6 separate regions of the Homo sapiens genome follow, and regions 1, 2, 3, 4 and 5 are each linked to region 6. The links are contacts of gene promoters, found by promoter capture Hi-C in blood cells and fetal thymus (Javierre and others, 2016). All regions are on one chromosome and are shown on one strand. The core of a region is centred on a gene start or on the middle of the fragment in contact, and the rest is flanking DNA. Distances in the headings are between cores, read along the strand shown.

The links. The method cuts DNA at HindIII sites, captures the fragments that hold promoters and counts their contacts. A CHiCAGO score of 5 or more calls a contact.
Region 1: a contact is called between a fragment that was not itself captured here and the fragment with the promoter of AHCYL1 in region 6, in 2 of 17 cell types (naive CD8 T cells and M2 macrophages). The highest score is 5.7, in naive CD8 T cells.
Region 2: a fragment that was not itself captured here is called in contact with the fragment with the promoter of AHCYL1 in region 6 in 3 of 17 cell types (non-activated CD4 T cells, neutrophils and naive B cells); the score reaches 6.9 in non-activated CD4 T cells.
Region 3: a fragment that was not itself captured here is called in contact with the fragment with the promoter of AHCYL1 in region 6 in 1 of 17 cell types (M2 macrophages); the score reaches 5.2 in M2 macrophages.
Region 4: a contact is called between a fragment that was not itself captured here and the fragment with the promoter of AHCYL1 in region 6, in 7 of 17 cell types (erythroblasts, non-activated CD4 T cells, naive CD4 T cells and 4 more). The highest score is 7.0, in erythroblasts.
Region 5: a contact is called between the fragment with the promoter of AMIGO1 here and the fragment with the promoter of AHCYL1 in region 6, in 1 of 17 cell types (neutrophils). The highest score is 6.3, in neutrophils.

The regions. Positions count from the first base shown.
Region 1 is chr1:109,573,924-109,577,154 of GRCh38, reverse strand. GNAI3 (G protein subunit alpha i3) reads right to left here. Exons shown (of 9, transcript NM_006496.4): 3 at 3,118-3,231. Among named protein-coding and RNA genes, the nearest start is that of MIR197, 23 kb to the left of the region's middle. The HindIII fragment of the contact is 8,274 bases long and covers 1-3,231 here.
Region 2 is chr1:109,488,541-109,491,596 of GRCh38, reverse strand. It overlaps ATXN7L2 (ataxin 7 like 2), which reads right to left. Exons shown (of 11, transcript NM_001350175.2): 7 at 2,497-2,750; 8 at 1,469-1,667; 9 at 1,205-1,326; 10 at 1-675. Among named protein-coding and RNA genes, the nearest start is that of CYB561D1, 4.0 kb to the left of the region's middle. RefSeq lists a silencer at 691-740. The HindIII fragment of the contact is 4,525 bases long and covers 1-3,056 here.
Region 3 is chr1:109,658,552-109,661,616 of GRCh38, reverse strand. GSTM4 (glutathione S-transferase mu 4) reads right to left here. Exons shown (of 8, transcript NM_000850.5): 6 at 2,708-2,803; 7 at 2,507-2,617; 8 at 1-452. The coding sequence ends at 363. Among named protein-coding and RNA genes, the nearest start is that of GSTM4, 4.0 kb to the right of the region's middle. The HindIII fragment of the contact is 1,267 bases long and covers 730-1,996 here.
Region 4 is chr1:109,552,309-109,555,512 of GRCh38, reverse strand. All of the region lies in intron 1 of GNAI3 (G protein subunit alpha i3), which reads right to left. Among named protein-coding and RNA genes, the nearest start is that of GNAI3, 5.3 kb to the right of the region's middle. The HindIII fragment of the contact is 1,044 bases long and covers 820-1,863 here.
Region 5 is chr1:109,508,445-109,511,780 of GRCh38, reverse strand. It overlaps AMIGO1 (adhesion molecule with Ig like domain 1), which reads left to right and starts at 2,054. Exons shown (of 2, transcript NM_020703.4): 1 at 2,054-2,361; 2 at 2,782-3,336. The coding sequence starts at 2,869. LOC105378893 (a long non-coding RNA gene) reads left to right here. Exons shown (of 3, transcript XR_001738179.2): 3 at 1,140-1,179. RefSeq lists silencers at 2,051-2,170, 2,231-2,380, 2,391-2,450. The HindIII fragment of the contact is 14,739 bases long and covers 1-3,336 here.
Region 6 is chr1:109,983,164-109,986,152 of GRCh38, reverse strand. It overlaps AHCYL1 (adenosylhomocysteinase like 1), which reads right to left and starts at 1,388. Exons shown (of 17, transcript NM_006621.7): 1 at 981-1,388. The coding sequence starts at 1,100. RefSeq lists silencers at 843-912, 1,093-1,162. The HindIII fragment of the contact is 11,948 bases long and covers 1-2,989 here.

The sequences.
Region 1 (3,231 bases), core at 732-3,231, 410 kb after region 6:
ATGTCCTTGTACATATGCAAGGTATGGTGCTTTATCTAACATGTGAAGTCTTCATAATCCCCTGGTTCTGAAATTTGACCTATACCCATGCACGTATTCAAATAACCTTATTAAGCACTACTTTAAAAAAAAAAAAAAACAGAAAAAAACCATGACTCTAATTTTAGAAACTTCAAAAGAGAGGGAATTATTACTACTTTTTTTGCTGTCCTGACTCTTTAAATATTCTTTTAGGAGCAAACACTTTTTTCTTATCACTTAATTTCTTCCACTGACCTGCTCTTGCTTCCCCACAATAAACCCTCTCTAAAGGTCTATAAAGAGGTGCCTCTTGGCTGGGCATGGTGGCTCACGCCTGTAATCCCAATACTTTGGGCAGCCAAGGCAGATGGATCACCTGAAGTCAGGAGTTCCAGACCAACCTGACCAACATGGAGAAACCCCCGTCTCTACTAAAAATACAAAAAAATTAGGCGGGCATGGTGGTGCATGCCTATAATCCCAGCTACTCGGGAGGCTGAGGCAGGAGAATCGCTTGAACCCAGGAGGCAGAGGTTGCGGTGAGCCAAGGTCACACCATTGCACTCCAGCCTGGGCAACAAGAGTGAAACTCTGTCTCAAAAAAAACAAAAAACAACAACAAAAAAAAAAACAGAAGAGGCCCCTCTTTACAATAAACTTCACACCTCCACACTTAAGCAGATGTGAAAAAGGAACCTATTCCACACTCAGCTCTATTTTTTTTCCATTCACACTCTCTAACCAACTATAAAAAACTAGAGTAGAAGCCGGGCACAGTGGCTCACACCTGTAATCCCAGCACTTGGGGAGGCCAAGGCAAGTGGATCACCTGAGGTCAGGAATTCAAGACCAACCTGGCCAACATGACGAAACCCCATCTCTACTAAAAATACAAAAATTAGTCAGCCGTGGTGGCAGGCGCCTGTAATCCCAGCTCCTTGGGAGGCTGAGGTAGGAGAATCACTTGAATCCAGGAGGCAGAGGTTGCAGTGAGCCAAAATCGTACCGTTACACTCCAGCCTGGGTGACAAGAGCAAAACTCCGCCTCAAAAAACAAACAAACAAAAATACTAGAAGACAATAAGAGAGGAGCTATAAACATAAAACCTTACACACAGAAGGAAAAATAAAAAGCAATGTTTAAAAATTATAATATAGGATTACAGACTAGGTTGTGTGGACACCAGAAAGCTGGATGATTTAGGAGGCCTGAGAGGGACTAATGATGTCAACTGCATCTGGTGACACAAGAGTATTAGGATACAAAGATTAATGACAATTGATTTGATAATGGAAAGAAATGGGGCCGGGAGCGGTGGCTCACGCCTATAATCCCAGCACTTTGGGAGGCCGAGGCGGGCGGATCACAAGGTCAGGAGTTCGAGACCAGCCTGGCCAACATGGTGAAACTCCATCTCTACTAAAAATACAAAAATTAGCTGGGCGTGGAGGTGAGCGCCTGTAATCTCAGATACTCAGGAGGCTGAGACAGGAGAATCGCTTGAACCTGGGAGGCAGAGGCTGCAGCCAGCCATTGCATTCCAGCCTGGGCGACAGGGCGAGAGTCCGTCTCCAAAAAAAAAAAAAAAAAAAAAAAAAGAAATGAAAGGGTAGGGAGATAAATAAAGGAAGACAGACGGCGGGGAATAAAATTAAAGAGGGAAAGAGAAAAGGGACAAACTAAAAGAATAAATAACTGAGACAGAGAAAAAACCAACAGAGAGAAGGAAGAGAATAAATACAGTACTACTGACCAGTTACCAGATACAACAAATACAACAGAGAAGTAGAGTTAGGTGATAGGGAGAAATGAGAAAAGGGAGGAAGAAAAAATAAGACCACAGATAGAGCTGGTATAAAGAAGAAAAAGAGGAAAAGAAGGAAACAAAAGCAGGGGGTGAGAGAAGGAATAGGAAAGGGTAAGACAAGGATAAAGGCTTTATTTTTGCTTGACTGCCAAACTTCCCTGCTCAGATGCATAGAAAAATAGTCTCTGTGATATATTTCACAAAAATATAAAAGTCACATTCACATATTTTCTTATTTTTTGATACAAGTCTCTCATTTCACAATCCCTAATCCAGCTCCTCTTCCTTTATGCCATTTCTAAGACACTTTCTAGTCTAACACTATCCAACTGTGACTACCCTTTCAGTATTTCCCCTCAACAATTTCCTATCTTTTTATCAAATATAAATTCGCATTTGATAAGTTGGGAGTGGCTTATGAGAGTTCCTAAGCAACTTCATAGACATATAGGTTTTGCCTTTCCAGGCAGACCTCCCAAATCATTTCCTTTTATTTCGCCATGGCACATAAGTATGACACTCTGAACACAGCCAGTGAGTCCCTTAGATGTAGGAAATAATTCTATAATTTCCCAGCCTTCTCTGGATTTTAGCTGATAATAATATCAAAGATCTCCTGCCTTCATATTGGCACCCTCCCCAATGGCATAAAACATCCTAATTACACATGCTCTAATTTTATAAACTAGATCTTCAGGGTCCACTAAGTATTATTATAATAATACAACTTTTTAAATAGCTGACATGTGCAAGGCATTAAAGAATTATACTAGGGCATGTTATACTCCAATTCTATAGCCTTAGGTTCCATGTAGTATACAGTATTCTTGAATATCTGACTTAGATATTCAAGAATTTGGACTTAGTGCTCATGTCCTTACAGAATTTATTCTGGGAGACTGATTTTGGCCTTTAATCTGTACACCTCAGAAAGCAGAGCTACATATCATGGCAACCTTTCTCTTAGATTATTTTAATGTACTATTATCTACTACTATAAAAGTCAACAGTGCTGTTAAAAAAAAAAAAAAAGCAATTGAATAGAACAGTTATCCCAGAAACCTACCGTGCACCCACAGAATCCCATTTCCTAGGCTCCTCTTGGGGTGGTTATATCTAACACCTGCTAAAGTAGATTGCTAACATTTCTCAAGTGAGCACAAAGTACTTTGCTACATTTTATCTTGTTGCTTAAATTCATTTCCCTAAAACATGAAGCAAAAATTTTGCTTAACTTAACTGTATCTGCTGAATAAGAGCAAGTGAAGAGGAAATGAGAAACACTTACTGCCCTGGCAGCTTCCCCAAAGTCAATCTTTAGCCGTCCCATGGCTCTTATGATTGCAATGATGGACTGTATAGTATTGCTGTAGACAACTACTTTATATTGTTTACATTCATC
Region 2 (3,056 bases), core at 118-2,617, 490 kb after region 6:
TAAGTGGCCAGGTTTTTCCGCTTCTTGGCCACCTCCTCCTCAGAGAGGCAGTTGGTTGGCAGGGCCTTGGCTGGGTGTCCAGCTGCTCCCCGGTTCTCCAGCTGAGAAGCCTTGACTGGTGTGGGGAGCTGATGAGGGGAGCCACGACAGTCCAGGGGCCCTGCCCGCTTCACTCTTGGCCCCATTGTCCCATTAAGCCCCATGCTCAGGGCTGTTTTAGTTTTGGCCGAGAGGCCCCTACAGCCAGAGGGTTTCCCTTTTCCAGTGGGCTCCAGGATGCAGGTCCGTTTAAGAGTGGTAGGGCCAGGGGATAACTTCCGCTTTCGAGAAGGGGCCTCCACCTCCACCCCGTCCTTGCCTTTGGATGACTTGCTGGCCTTGGAAGGCGGCAGCTTGCTGAAGGACGGGGATGGCGTGTTGGCAGGCAGTGGTGAGGTGATAGCCTGGCTCCCGCCCATGCACTCTGCCTGGCTACAGGCAGCCGCCACGCTGGGGGAGCCTGCAGGGTAGCTGGGGACAAGGTTGTCCTTGGTGGGGGGCATGGAGGCTGGGCAGGCAGGTCTCAGGGTTGGACCTGGAAGGCGGGGGCAGGTGCCTGTAGAGGATGGGCTCAGGGGAGCAGATAACGGGGAGTTGACAAGGTGAGCTGGAGGTTCAGCTGCCGGTGGGATCTTCCTGCAGCAAAAAGAAAGCCCCACTGTGACTGCCAAGAAACAAGACAGCTTCCCCCAACACAAGACACACTCCAGTCTCTCTGCCCCACCTAGAAATGGTCAGCAGAGCCCCAGAGTTGCTGCCATCTGCTGGGAGATGCTGGAACTGAGGGTTAGGAAGAAGACACAGGGGTGCCTGTGGAGAGGAATTAGCTAGTACCTACTAACTAGGAGGCAGCCCACTAGGAACTTCATTTTAAATCTTGGTTTGGGCATCCCCTATCCCTAGTTACCCAAAAGGTACTGGAAGTGATGGATGAAAGTCTAGATTCACCCCCAGACCACCCTTCCATGCCCTGCCTTAGCCAAACTCTAGGCTGCCAAGTTTTCCCACCTCCTTTTCATGCTACTCCCTATCTGGGGTCCTGCTGGCAAATAGCCAAGGCACACCTATGGGTATACAGGAAAGATCAGGGCTTCTGAAGCCCAAGTATGTCTGGAACCTAGGAATTTCCATTCTAGAACTTCCATTCTGGGTCCGAGAGACTTACTTCCACATGTGTGTGCTGAGGTGCCGTTCCAGCATGGAGCTGAGTGCTGAGCAGAACCGGTCCAGCCGGCGGCTAAACACATAGCATCCTGGGCTCACCAGCCGGCTCCCAAAGGTGCAGAACTAAAGGCAGAAGGAAGGTGCATGGTTGGCAGGGTCTGGGGTGCACAGACAGCATCTGCACACAGGATCTGGCCTCCTCCCCATGTTGTTGGCCAGGAGTGCTGGGCCACCCCCTCCATAGGCCCCTATTCCAGGTCCTTACCGCCTGTGGCCGTGGGGGCCGGGTTGCATAATGGCAGTCAGGGGGTGGGTGGAGGTCGTCAGATGTCCCCTCCTCCTCACTCTCTTCGCTGGAGGCCTGGGTCCCACCCCGGGGCATGGGGAAGGGGAACAGGCCTGGGTCCCCATCACCACCACAGGGGCCTTCATCATCCAATTCACTCTCGGAGGAGGCCCGGGACCTGGAAGGGCCAAAAGGGATGCCAGGGGAATGTGACTGTTGTGGGGTCAGAGTAGGGGCATCCTTGAACCTGCCGAGCTCAAAGAGCAGGGCACCAGGGCAGACACCCTGCAGGGCAATCAGAAGAGGACAGAGGGAAGGGAAGGACAGGAGGGAACGACACAGCTCACAGAGTAAGAGACAGAGAGACTGCTCCCAAGGGATTCTCTCCCCAGCCCCTTCACCTCCCAGCCCCTTCCTCCTCAGGGGATAATCTGCTGCAGATCCGCCTCCTCCAGAAAATCTTCACAGTTAAAACTGTACCCAGCTCTGGTCAGCCCAGTCAACTCGCTCAACCCCCTTCTTGCATCACATATTCCTGTGAGCCTGTCTGTGAGCTGAGCCTGTGTTTCGTGTCTGCCCCTTGTGTGACAGGCAGAGATGCATGTGTGTCTCCTTCAGCAAGTCAGGCTCTCCCTGGGGTCCGGCATAGCCTCTGCACGCGAAGGGGCCAGTGAGTGAATACACATAGGGCTGCCTTGCCCAGGAGTGTGACCCTTTCAGCTCCCCAGTGACAAGTTTCGGTCTGTTGGAGGCAGCTGGGAAAATGTTCATATCCTGAGTGTTGGATCTGGCACACTGCCGAGAGGCTGGGGTGCTGTGGTATGCCTGGTTGGAAACAGGGGAGTCTCCTGCTTCCACACCACTGTCAGGAGCCCCAGGAATACCCCCACACTCAGGGCTGAGGGAGTGCCTCTTCCAGGACACTCCCTGAGCCTGTTTCCAGGGGCCCCTGATGGCTTAGGGGCCAAGTACCCCCAGGTGAGGTAGGGGTTGGATTCTAGACGTACCTGGGCAGTGCACAGTATGGGTAGGTCTGCTTGGCACGAACAGAGAAGGTGCTGCTGGGAGCAGCCACCGCTGCTACAACCTGGACTGAGGAGGGGAGCTCCTGGGAGGGGCGCTCGAGAACTTGCTCCTTGCGCCCTGGGCTCTTCTCCTTGGGAGACTCCCCTTTGCGGGAGTTGGCCTTCAGCTCTGCCACCAGCACGTCAAAGTCCTTGGCCCGGCCCTGGACTTCCCGGCGCTGGTGTACTGAGTGGATCTAGAATACAGCAGAGTGGAGAGCTGGGGAGTAGGTATGAACTGAGAAGGGGTGAGGGACGGCAGGGTGCTTTGGCCCGGGCAAGTTGGGGGGCAGGGAGAGAGGTGGGCATATTTGCAGCTGTGTTCATGTGTCTTTGTTTCATTCCCCCATGGGGCCAAAACCCTCCTTTGGGATGGGGGAATCTGGAAACTCCCTCCTTCCCACTGTTCCCACCTTCTGCCCAGGAGGGGCATACCCATCTCCCCTTCCCTTGGGTGGGCCTAACTGCCCTCCCTTAAGCTGGACCTTCAGTAACATCGACAT
Region 3 (3,065 bases), core at 114-2,613, 320 kb after region 6:
TCATGCAACACGGGGACAGCTCAGGGCTGAGCTCCACAGGCGAGGGGCCAGGTAGGCCCTTCAAAGCAGATACAACCACTAACAGGAAGGAAGGTCAGGCTGGCTTTAGTGCAGGGAAGGGTAGTGTTGGGAGGGGGATGTTCATGAAGGAAAGTGGGTAGCTGAGGCTTCAAAGGGCCTGCATGGGACAGGGGTTTAGGGGAAGTGAAGAGGCCCAATAAAGTCTTGGGGGTAAAGATGGGAATAAACAGGAGAAAGGAACGAGGAGGCAGGTGCTGGGATGCAGAGTCCAGCTGCGCTGCACAGCCTGGGCAGCAGGCTGAGTATGGGCTCCTCACTCCCACCTCCTGGCCTTCAAGGCATTACTTGTTGCCCCAGACAGCCACCCTTGTGTACAGAGGTTTTGGGAGGAAGCGGCTGGACTTCATGTAGGCAGAGATCTTCTCCAAGCCCTGAGAGGGGGGAAAATAAGGCCAGAACTCAAGGTCAGCTGCCCATGAGGGCTGGGACAACCCCACTGCAGACACAGCAGGTCAGGGCCCTGGCCACAGCCTTTCCACGTGGGCTCAAGTGCTGAGGCATCACACAGCCTCTTAGGGTCCCCAGATTTGCGGAGTTAACTCTTCCAACTTCCTTTAAGTAATGTTGTACCACAGTAACAGCTAACACTTATGAAGATTCTACCCGGTGCTGGGTGCTCTGTACCCAAGAGAAATTACAACATAAGCTTAGAAAACCCACTCGACTACTCTGCAAGGCTGAATCTATTATCACCATTTCTCATGTGGGAAACAGAAGTTCAGTAACTTCCTCACACTCAAATAGCTACTAAGGGGGACAGAGCTGCAACGTAGACTGGTTCTGTCTCTCTCCAGTTCTGGCCTCTTTCTGTCAAATCCCCATCCTCCCCCAAATCCCTCAGGAGGTCCTGTCACTCTCTGACTACACAACATTCTCCTGTTTCACAGGGAGGCACCTGGCTTGCCTAGGTTTGCACACACAGAGGGGACCTCTGAAAATGTCTGTGCAGCCTGGAAGAGAGCCCAGATCTCACCCAAGGACCTGGCAAAACCTGGATGAAAGTGGTCAAGGTGTGTTGGACCAGCAAAAGAAACGCCAGACCAGGCTCTAATCATTCCTTTTAAAGCAGAAAGTCTAAACCTCCCCACCTGGTACCTGAGCTAAACACCACTGTGCCCCAACCCACCTCATCTCCAACCCCACTACCTCAGACCAGGCTGTATGACACTCAGGTGTGCTCTGCACGATCTTTCCAGGATCAAATAGCCGTGTAATTTCTAAGGATTCAGAGAGAGCCAGGGCTGCCTATTCCCAAAGGGCCAAGCCCAGGTGGACCATATGCTGCAGCCCTCAGCTCTCTTCCCCTCCCACTACCTCTTACATAACCCCAAGGCCACTCAGCCGAGACCACAGCCAGAGCTGATGGGAACTAGCTGAGTAACCAGATCCCTTGATGGGTAGTGGGAAAGGAAAACAAATTCTAGGCTGAAAAACTTGTTGGACTAATGCCTCAAATTCTCACATCTGTACTAAAAGTAGGATTTGCTGCTCTCAAACAAATTCAGCACGGGTGAGGGATGGTTCCCCATGAGTGAGGGGCAGGCCCCAGGCCTGGTACCCAGGTGGTGCCACACACCTCACAGGCTGCTCTGCCTGCAGGCCTCTCACTGCACTCATTTCCAGGATGGGGCAGTCATCTATGCAACTCCCACTGTGCCTCACACCCTGCCTCATGCAGAGGAGAAGGTCGGTGAATAGCAGTAAAATCAGTGTGCTACTCATCTCACAGGGGGAACACTTGGAACACTGGAGGGAAAAAAGAGAGGAAAAAAGATAAAGAAGGAGAGTGCCCCAGCACAGAGCACTTCAACATACACTCCTTCAACAGGGGCACCCACATATGTACCCTAATCCAGCTCTGGCCACAGCTCTGGCTCTCAGGATTCCCCACGTGGGGGTCTGATCGTGCAAAGCTTCTGGGAGTAGCTATGAATACTGCCTGTGGGTTTCGTACTCGACGTCAATGCCACCGTGTGTCAGTCCTACTATTGCCAGCTGCATCCATGCTCCTAAAGTTCTCTGCCTCTTCCAAAGTGCCCTGGGCTGTGAAATCCAGGCTGGATGAGGCCTGAGGCTTCTTTCTTTTGTCACAAAAGGGAGAGCCCTGACTGCCACCCATAGATCCAGATGCTCACAGGGAGCCCAGCACAGCCTCCACTGGCTCTGGGACCCAGAACAAAGGACTGACCCTCTCATTCAAAGTTTTCTTATCTCTAAATGGGCAAGATAATTCTGTCACCCTGTAGGAATGTTGGAAATTTCAAATTCCACACGATAGGTATAATGTGCTGGGCAAGGTTCCTGGCATGAAGCCAGCACTCAATAAATGCAAGTTATTCTTTATGTAGCTCCAGGACTGGGAAAGCATCTGAAAGGAGGTAACGGAACAAGGGGCATCAAAGAGAAAGGAGGATGGGGGCATCACCTCAAAGCGGGAGATGAAGTCCTTCAGATTTGGAAAGGCGTCCAAGCAGTTGGGCTCAAATATACGGTGGAGGTCAAGGACATCATAGGCGAGGAAATCTACAAAGGTGATCTGCAGAAGGCCAAGAATGTGTGGGCTGGAATCTCTGTAACGTAGGATGTATGGCAAATCTCTAGTGTCCTCATCACATGCCCCCATTACCTTGTCTCCAACAAACCATGGCCTCTTCCCCAGGAACTGTGAGAAGTGCTGCATCATTGTAGGAAGTTCCTCCAAGTATTCTGGCTTCAGTTTCTCCTGAGGCAGAAAACAGCTGTCACCACCCTCAGACACAAGCTCCCTGCACAGATGTGGCCTCCCCAGGGCTGTGTATGGCCCCAGCTGGCCACGAGCAAGCAGCCATCTTCCCCACAGCTGGAACTGGCTTCAGCTGGACATACCAGCATTTATTACACTCCAAATGGGTAGCTGGAGGCTTTTGTGGTGATGGGAAGGCAGAGAGGAATGCAACACTATCCCTGAATCTGTCCCCACTGACCTCCCAACCACCCTCCTCTGG
Region 4 (3,204 bases), core at 92-2,591, 430 kb after region 6:
TTCAGACTGCAAAAGTGATTAATGCTTCTACATGTGGCTTGTCAATTATCCCAGCACCATTTGTGGAACAGGGTGTCCTTTCGCCACTTCACATTTTTGTTTCTTTGTCGAAGATTAGTTGACTGGAAGTTATTTGGCTTTATTTCTGGGCTCTCTATTCTGTTCCATTAGTCTATATGCCTGTTTTTACACCAGTACCATGATGTTTTGGTGATTATGGCCTTACAGTATAGTTCGAAGTCAGGTAATCTAATGCCTCTAGGTTTGTTCTTTTTGCTTAGTCTTGCTTTGGCTATACGGGCTCTTTTTTGGGTCCACATGAATTTTAGGATTGTTTTTTCTAGTTCTGTGAAGAATGATGGTGGTACTTTAATGGGAATTGCATTGAATTTGTAGATATGCTTTTGGCAGTATGGTCATTTTCACAATATTGATTCTACCCATCCATGAGCATGGGACGTGTTTCCATTTGTTTGTATCATCTATGATTTCTGTCAGCCGTGTTTTGTAGTTTTCCTTGTAGAGGTGTTTCACCTTCTTGGTCAAGTATATTCCTAAGTATTGTTTGTTTGTTTGTTTTTTGTTTGCAGCTACTGTAAAAGGTTGAGTTCTTGATTTGATTCTCAGCTTGGTTGCTGTTGGTGTATAGGGCTACTGACTTAAATCTAAGACCCAAAACCATAAAAATTCTAGAAGATAACATTGGAAAAACCCTTCTAGCCATTGGCTTAGGCAAAGACTTCACAACCAAGAACCCAAAAGCAAATGCAAAGACAAAAATAAAAATAAATAAATGGGACTCAACTAAACTAAAAAGCTTCTGAGCAACAAAAGAAATCAGCAGAGTACAGACAACCCAGAGTGGGAGAAAATCTTCACAATCTATACATCTGACAAAGGACTAATATCCAGAATCTACAAGGAAATCAAATCAGCACGAAAAAAACAATCCCATCAAAAAGTGGGCTAAGGACTTGAATAGACAATTCTCACAAGATATACAAATGGCCAGCAAACTTACGAAAACATGCTCAACATCACTAATTATCAGGAACTACAAATCAAAACTACAATGTGATACCACCTTACTCCTGCAATAATGGCCATAATAAAAAAAAAATAGATGTTGGTGTGGATGTGATGAAAAGGGAACACCTTCACGCTGTTGGTGGGAATGTAAACTAGTACAACCACTATGGGAAACAGTGTGTAGGTTCCTTAAAGAACTAAAAGTATATCTACCATTTGATGCACCAATCTCACTCCTGAGTATCTACCCTGAGGAAAGAAGCCATTATACAAAAAAGATACTTGCATACGCATGTTTATAGCAGCACAATTCACAATGGCAAAAATATGGAACCAGCCCAAATGCCCATCAATCAACGAGTGGATAAAGAAAATGTGATATACACACACACACACACACACACCCCTCTACACCCATGGAACACTACTCAGCCATAAAAAGGAATGAAATAATGGCATCTGCAGCAACCTGGATGGAACTGGAGACGATTACTCTAAGTGAAGTAACTCAGGAATGGAAAACCAAACATCGTACGTTCTCACTTGTAAGTGGATGCTAAGCTATGAGGATGCAAAGGCCTAAGAATGATACAACGGACTTTGGGGACTCGGGGGAAAGGGTGGGAAGGTGGTGAGGGATAAAGGACTATACATTGGGTACAGTGTAGACTGCTCAGGTGATGGGTGCACCAAAATCTCAGAAATTGCCACTAAACTTATTCACGTAACCAAACATAACCTGTTCCCCAAAAACCTATTGAAATGTTAAAAAAGTGACTAATGCATTTAAATAAAAGACACAAAGAATGATACATGCTTATAAAACACAAAGCTTTTTTTCCCCGAAACACAGATGCATCCTCACATGAAATGTAACTGGCCATGAACCTTATCCCAAGCAAATGGCAAACATAATAAAGGGTATAATCCCATAGGAGGATATAATGTAATGGCATGTTTACCAAAGGGCAGTCTTATTCTCAATAATAAGCATATTCAGCCAATAATATGCAGCAATTTAAATATAATTAACTGTATAATATAGAGTTTAAGTAAATTAGATGATTCCAGTTCTCTGCATGCAACTGGCTTTTTGCCATACTACCACCAGCAAATCCCAAAGAACAAAGTTTTTTTTTATGTTTTCTCAGAACCTGCTAAAGGAAACTATCAAGAAACAGAAATACAGAGAGCAGATAATTCAATAATTTACAAAACTAAGTATCTTCATTAGTACAGTGATGAGTAAAAAAAAAGGACTAACATTTAATTCCTTTCACCACAAAAGGATATTAAAATTCTTTGAAGATCTTTGAAAATAGTATATTAATATGAAAAATAATAAAACAGCTGTCTGAAAAACCTCTGAAAAAAGTAGCTAAAATGGTAATTCTCACGATCATCATCATCAATAGAAGTGACCACTTACTATTTTTTATTTGCTAGGCACTAATGTGAAGCATTTTACATGCATTATCTCATTTCATATTATGAAACATCATCTCTGCTTTACATATGTAAAAATTATTATTCTTATGGTTAAGTTACTTGCTCTGGGTCTCAGAGCTAATAAGTGGAGGTAGAACTTAAATTCAGTTTTGTGTGAATCCAAAAGCAGTGCTCTTATCCATTATACCAGTGCTTCCCAACCTTTGTCACATGATGGCACACATTAAAAATATTTGTAAGGCTCATTGGGGTGAGCTGAAAGAGCTTGGTGAAAAAAAATTTTCTTGCTTGCCCTGGGGTCAAAAAAAAACAAAAACAAAACCCGCACACACAAAATTTCTTATTATGAAATTATGGCATGAAAAAAATACAAAGTATTACAAATGATATTAAATATTAAATTGGTATAAATTTAGTATTTATACCAAATAAAATTTTTTCAAATTACCAAATTCATGGTAGGGTAGGCACAGTGGCTCACACTGGTAATCCCAGCACTTTGGGAGGCTGAGATGGGAGAATCACATGAGGCCAAGCATTTGAGACCAGCCTGGGCAACATAATGAGACCCCCATCTCTAATTGTTTAAATAGTAAATAACCAAATTACCAAATTCATGAATTATACAAGAGGAAATCATACCAAAGATGTTCAAATGTAATTTCAACTGTTGTAAAAGTTTGAACTTATAAAAATGATTTAAAATTTCAATGCTATAAAAAATTT
Region 5 (3,336 bases), core at 805-3,304, 480 kb after region 6:
AAGAGCCAGATCACTGTGACTTCTGTCTTGCTGTCTCTTGCATCTCTTGCTCTGAGGGAAGTCAGCTACCGTGTTGTGAGGAAACTCAAGCTGTCTTGTGGAGAGACCTTTATGGATAAGAATAGAGGTTTCCTGCCAACAGCCAGCCACATGAATTTAAGTGAGCCTCTATGGCCCCAGTGAAGCCTTCTAATGACTGTAGCTCCATCTAACGCATAACTGCATGAGAAACTGCCAAGCCAGAACTGTCCACCAGACTGCTCTTGAATCTGACCAACAGACACTGTGAAAGGCAATAAATGTATATTGCTGTAGGAAGTCACTAAGTTTTGGGGTAATGTGATTATGCAGCAATAGATAACTGATGCAATGTGATTTCAAGATTCTTCACACCTTGTCCTCCAAAAAGATTACCCTCCTCATCTTTTCAATGATGCCTGAAATGAACAGAACAGAACATCTTTCTCTTTTTTCTTTCTTTCTTTCTTTCTTTCTTTCTTTCTTTCTTTCTTTCTTTCTTTCTTTTTTTTTTTTTTTTTTGAGACAGGATCTTGCTCTGTCACCCAGGCTGGAATGCAGTGACACAAACATGGCTCACTGCAGCCTTGACCTCCAGGGCTCAAGTGATCCTCCGACCTCAGCCTCTCAAGTAGTGGGCACCACAGGTGCGTGCCACCATGCCTTTTTTTTTTTTAAGAGACAGAGTCTCACCATGTTGCCCAGGCTGCTCTCGAACTCCTGGGTTCAAGCAATCCTCCTGCCGCAGCCTCCCAAAGTGCTGGGATTACAGGTGTGAGCCACTGCACCTTGCAGAAAGACCTTTTCACACTATGCATAAGATTAACACGCTAATACTCCTTGAAGAGATAATATATTCACTAAAATTCATGGTAAAACATGTGACAGATATAAATTCTTTTTAAAACTCTTAGCAAGCTAATCTACTGAGACATTAATTTCAGTCTTGATCTTGCTGTTATAAGAGACTGGAACAAATAAAAAGGTAATTTCTTATGGTCCACCATCTCAAGAACAGCTAACATCTTGAATGATAAGGTCTAGGCTCTTCCTGCATCTCTCTCTTTCCTCACCCCCAAACCCAAACAACATACACTAGTAACAGCTTCTTGTTGTTTCAGGGGCCACCCTAAAGAAGAAACCCCTCCACCTCCACCACTGGCCTTCATCTTGAGGATTAGGTAACAGAGAAACTATGTTGCAATTGCTCCATAAGGGGAGTGGGGAGCTGGCACTGGTTTAGGAAGAAGGCAAGTGGCCAGACCTAAGGGCTGAATGACTTCCTCCGGGCTGGGAAGGGTTTCGGAGTTTCCAGGAATGGAAATTGTCCCTGGCTTGTATGCAGTCCGTGTGTGTGTGTGTGTGTGTGTGTGTGTGTGTGTGTGTGTGTGTAGCAGGTGGAGTGGGGAGAGGTGCATGAGGTGTCTGTAAAGGGGTGTTCTGGGGCCTGGGCTCACCAAACACCCCCTTTCCCCTCACTCCTGCGCAGCTGGCTTGCAGGCTAAGGAGCTGTGCCCTTCAGTGGTACCTCAAGGGTCATGAACTAGTAGCATCAAGACGGGGGTGGGGTGGGGGGAACCCCTCCCCCAATTTTTGAGACCCCACAGCCACAGAGAGAAGGGAGGGGGAACCTCAGAATGTGACTAATGAATTTCCCGCCAACATTGGCAGGCGGGAGCTGAGCCAGATTTCTTCAATTTGCGAAATTAAAAGACATGTGACGCCTCTTGCCCGAGTAGGTGCAGCGAATTCACTTTAGTTAGACTTTTCCTGAGAGCCGGTCTGTGTAGCGAGAAGGGTGCTGGGAGATGGGGGAATGGGGGATGGAGGAAGTTATAGCGGAGCCTAAGGGGCCAGTGCCGCTCTTCCTGCCAATTTTCGTCTTTAGCTCAGCGTCCGGAGCTCGCTGGTTGAGGGAACGACCCCGCGCGCGTCCGCCCGGCCGGCTCCGACACAAACACACGCACGTGCGCCCCGCCCCCGCCGCGCGCACGCGCCCCGAGGCTCCGGCGGCGGCGACGGGCGCGCGCGCGGTGCTCGCTGCCCCCACGCCGCTCCCTCCGCTGGGATCGCTGCGCCTCCGGCTCCCCGCACCGATCCGCGCCAGGCCTGCGGACCTGGAGGCAGCGACCGCGGTCGGTGGGCTCCGGCGGGCTCAGCGGTCGAGGCGGTGGCAGGGTGAGCGGAGCGGGGCCCCGCAAGTCCCCGGGAGGCGACGGTGCCGGGCGCGGGCCCCTGCGTAAGGTGGGCGCAGTGACAGGCCGGCCGGTGAGGCGCCGCCGGGAGAGGCCGCGACGGAGCTCCCAGACCGGCCATGGGCTGAGACACGTCCTCGCCGAGCAGGTGCAGTGACCGGAGGCCCCGGGGGGAGCCCGCCCCTACAGGCCCCGGGGACCCTCAACCCCGACCGGACGCGTCCTACCCAGCCCGGTGCCCTGTTGACCTTCCCTCAGCTCCTCCCAAAAGGCACACCGACCCCACCTCCAAACCCTGCCCGTGCCATCCCTGTGACTCCCAGCAGTCCCTGCCATCCTGTGCATACCTGCAGCCTGCACCCCTGTGACCCCAGCCCAGTAGGCCCTCGGGCCACCTCCTCTTCGGCCGATATTTACAGCCCACTGCCTGCACAGTGCCTGGAAACTACCCAGCATCTCTCTCTCCTAGCCCAAAGGGGGTGGAGGTAAGGGTGGGAGGGGAAGTGGGAGAGGGTGTCCTTCCCTCTGGAGTCCTTGGTGACCACAAACCCATCCTCTTTCTCTCAAGTGACCCTTCCGTACCCCACCAGAACATGCCCGGGTGACCTCCTCCCAGATCTTCCTTGTGGCCTTCCTCGCCCACTCCAGTGACACTATGCACCCCCACCGTGACCCGAGAGGCCTCTGGCTCCTGCTGCCGTCCTTGTCCCTGCTGCTTTTTGAGGTGGCCAGAGCTGGCCGAGCCGTGGTTAGCTGTCCTGCCGCCTGCTTGTGCGCCAGCAACATCCTCAGCTGCTCCAAGCAGCAGCTGCCCAATGTGCCCCATTCCTTGCCCAGTTACACAGCACTACTGGACCTCAGTCACAACAACCTGAGCCGCCTGCGGGCCGAGTGGACCCCCACGCGCCTGACCCAACTGCACTCCCTGCTGCTGAGCCACAACCACCTGAACTTCATCTCCTCTGAGGCCTTTTCCCCGGTACCCAACCTGCGCTACCTGGACCTCTCCTCCAACCAGCTGCGTACACTGGATGAGTTCCTGTTCAGTGACCTGCAAGTACTGGAGGTGCTGCTGCTCTACAATAACCACATCATGGCGGTGGACCGGTGCGCCTTCGATGAC
Region 6 (2,989 bases), core at 139-2,638:
ACTGGCTTCAGGAAGGTCACCTCTTTGTAAAGGTTCTCTGGTCTACTGCTAACTGGGTGCCAGGTGTATGGAAAATCAAGATGTGGTTGGCAGTAAATGATGAGAAAGCAATAAGGATCCCAATTCCACCACTCGGAGAGCTAGTCAGACTAAAATCTCCAAAGGTTGCCATTTATGAGAGAATTCGAAGGGTGTCCTTTGAGTCAACCTACAGCACAATAGATCAAACTTGTTCTGCCTCAAAAGTACAGTCAAGAGTGAGCAATCTTCCCTTACCACCCACTACTCCAACCCACCCAAGCTCCTTTCTCCAGGGATGCCTAAGTGATCTATTCACATGACTCTAGGATCCACCTGTATCCATGACAGTGTCTGCTGTCACCAACCTCCAAATGTCAATTTCTTACATATTTCGAAGTAATTGGAATGCTGTAGAAAGTGAAAATCATAGATTTTCAGTTTCATGTTACCCTCATCGCTTTCACCTGTATATCAGAGCTAGCTTCACGCATTCTTTTCTCTTGCCTCCCAGCTATCACGCAGTTGTTGGATAAAGCGGCCACTGCTCCCAAAGATTTGATGGAAGTTCTGCCAGATTTACCCACTCACCTGAAGGGAGATTTTCTGTACACCCCATGCCCCCGGACTGGTCACAAGGGTCAGCTGAGTTGGTTCACCCCCTCCCACTCTCGTCTTCGAGGCCCTTCATCCAGGAAAAGTCAGTCGCAAATTTAAGGCCTGGCCCTGTCGGGTTTCAAAACGATCCCGGAGGACTTGGGCCGAGGGACAAAGGAAAGCGAGGTCAGAGGCGGCCTTTCAGCCCGGGAGAGGCCTGGGGCCGCACAGCCGCCACCCCCTACATCACCTCCGCCGTCCCCAGTCACCCCCAGAAGTCCCAAACTAGCCAGAGCCCGGGCTTGCTCGCGTCCCTTCCGCGAGGCCGGAGCCCGAGCCCCCGCCGCCACCCAGAGCCCCCGCACCTTCTTGGGCGCCTTGGTGACGGTGGCCATGAAGGAGTACTTCTCGGCGTCCTCGATCTCCTTGGCCTGCTTCAGCTCCTCCCCGACCCCGGGCAGCGGCATCGCGTCAGGCATCGACATTCCCCGGCCGGCCCGGCCAGCGGCTGACCCGCCGCCCCCGCCTCTTTCCCCCTCTGGCGCCCGCCCGCCTGCCCGCGCGGCGCCCTCCGACACGCGATCGCCCACCCTCCTGCCGGCCCCTGCGTCGAGCTGCGTCGGCTTCTGAGGTGCTGTGGCCCACGCCTTGTCTGTTCGGCAGCCCAAGGCAGCCGGACAGCGACGGCGGCCACAAGAGAACCAGAACAGCAGCTCCGAGCTCCGACCTGCCCGCGCCGCCACCTCCGCTGTACGCAAACACGCACGCAAAGCGAGGGTAGAGGGCGGTGACGCCACGTCAAGTACTGGCAGCTCCCGGGAGGGGGAAGAGGCGGGGAGAAAGGGCACTCTGTCGTGACGTCACCACGCTGGGCTGGGCCACAGAAGCCGTTCCTCTCCCGCTCGAGAGCGAAGTTCCCAGGGTGAGCAGGACCCTTTGTGCCACCAGGTGGCACCATCAGCCCTGGGAGCAGCGCGAGGTTCATGCAACGATGCTGCGGAACGGAGGGTCTTTGGGCTGCGGGGTTCCTGGCAAGGCCTCAGAGGCGCATGAAAGGGGTGTTTGGGAGCAAAGACCAGAGCCCCACACGACACATCCTACAGCGATTCCTAGGAAATGTCCGGGGCTCGAGACAGCCCACTCACTCACTGGCCCAGCCCCAGGCCCTTTGGATTAAAGCTCCTTCCCAAGGGGCCGTGCCTGTCTTTTTGACTTCATAGGGGGCAGAACTGACTCAGAGTAGTCTGGTTTCTGCACAACGCTTTGTGACTTCCTCCACCACCATCTCCGACTGGGCCTTGCCTGTTTACAAAACCCTCATTGGGATAGGGCTGATGGGTATGAGGGTGGAGACCAGGAGAGCTGATGGAGAAGTCCCCAGCCAGAATGGCCTTCCGGTCCTTGCTCCACCAAAGCATTAGACCCTTCCAGCTCTCAGTGGGCATCCAGGACATTCATGGACTGCTCACACCCTTTTACTGGGCCTACTATGTGCAGTGCCTGTGCTGAGGCCCTGCTGGCAAAAGGACATGTGACGCATTTTATGTTTTGCAAGGCTTAGTTCAGCTGGAGAGGCAAAACCTGCTTGTATCCTAATGTCAGCTGAGGTAGCTTGTCCTTTGAGATTCAAATGACATTGGCTCCAATTACCATGTCCTGTGGAAAGTCCATTACTGGGAGGACTTGGATTTTCATGGTCACCTCTGGCTCTAGTTTTTTTGCCTTGTCTGGCATTTTATTCACTATTCTGGTCTTGTGACTGTTTCTGTAGCTCCTGGGGTCAATTCAGCCGCTTCTCCTTTCAACCCCCACCCCATGCTAAACAACTACAAAATAAGGCTGTAACATGTAGTAAAACTTTTAATAAAGGTTTGTGGGTCACAGGGGAGAGATTACATCACACAGCAAACAATTTAAGAACACATTTCTGAAATGTTCTGAAAAGTTATTTTGGCTGTCTTACCACCCGGGGATTTCTCAATGGCCACAAGATCCCACCACGCTCCCTAGCCCATTGCCATCTAATCTAGCTTCCTCCTGTTCCTCCCTTCCCATCTCTGCACCTCATCCTTCCTTCCTTGATAGACTCTGGGAAGCCAGATTCTCCTCTGCTGTGCTGAGCAATTCCAGTCTTCCCAGTGCCCTTTCCCTAAATTCCTCCCCAGGACCACCTTTTTTTTTTTTTTGAGATGACGTCTCGCTCTGTTGCCCAAGCTGGAGTGCTCTCAGCTCACTGCAACCTCCGCCTGCCGGGTTCAAGTGATTCTCCTGCCTCAGCCTCCTGAGTGAGTAGCTGGGACTATAGGCGTGCGCCACCGTGCCCGGCTAATTTTTGTATTTTTAGTAGAGACGGGGTTTCACCATCTTGGCCAGG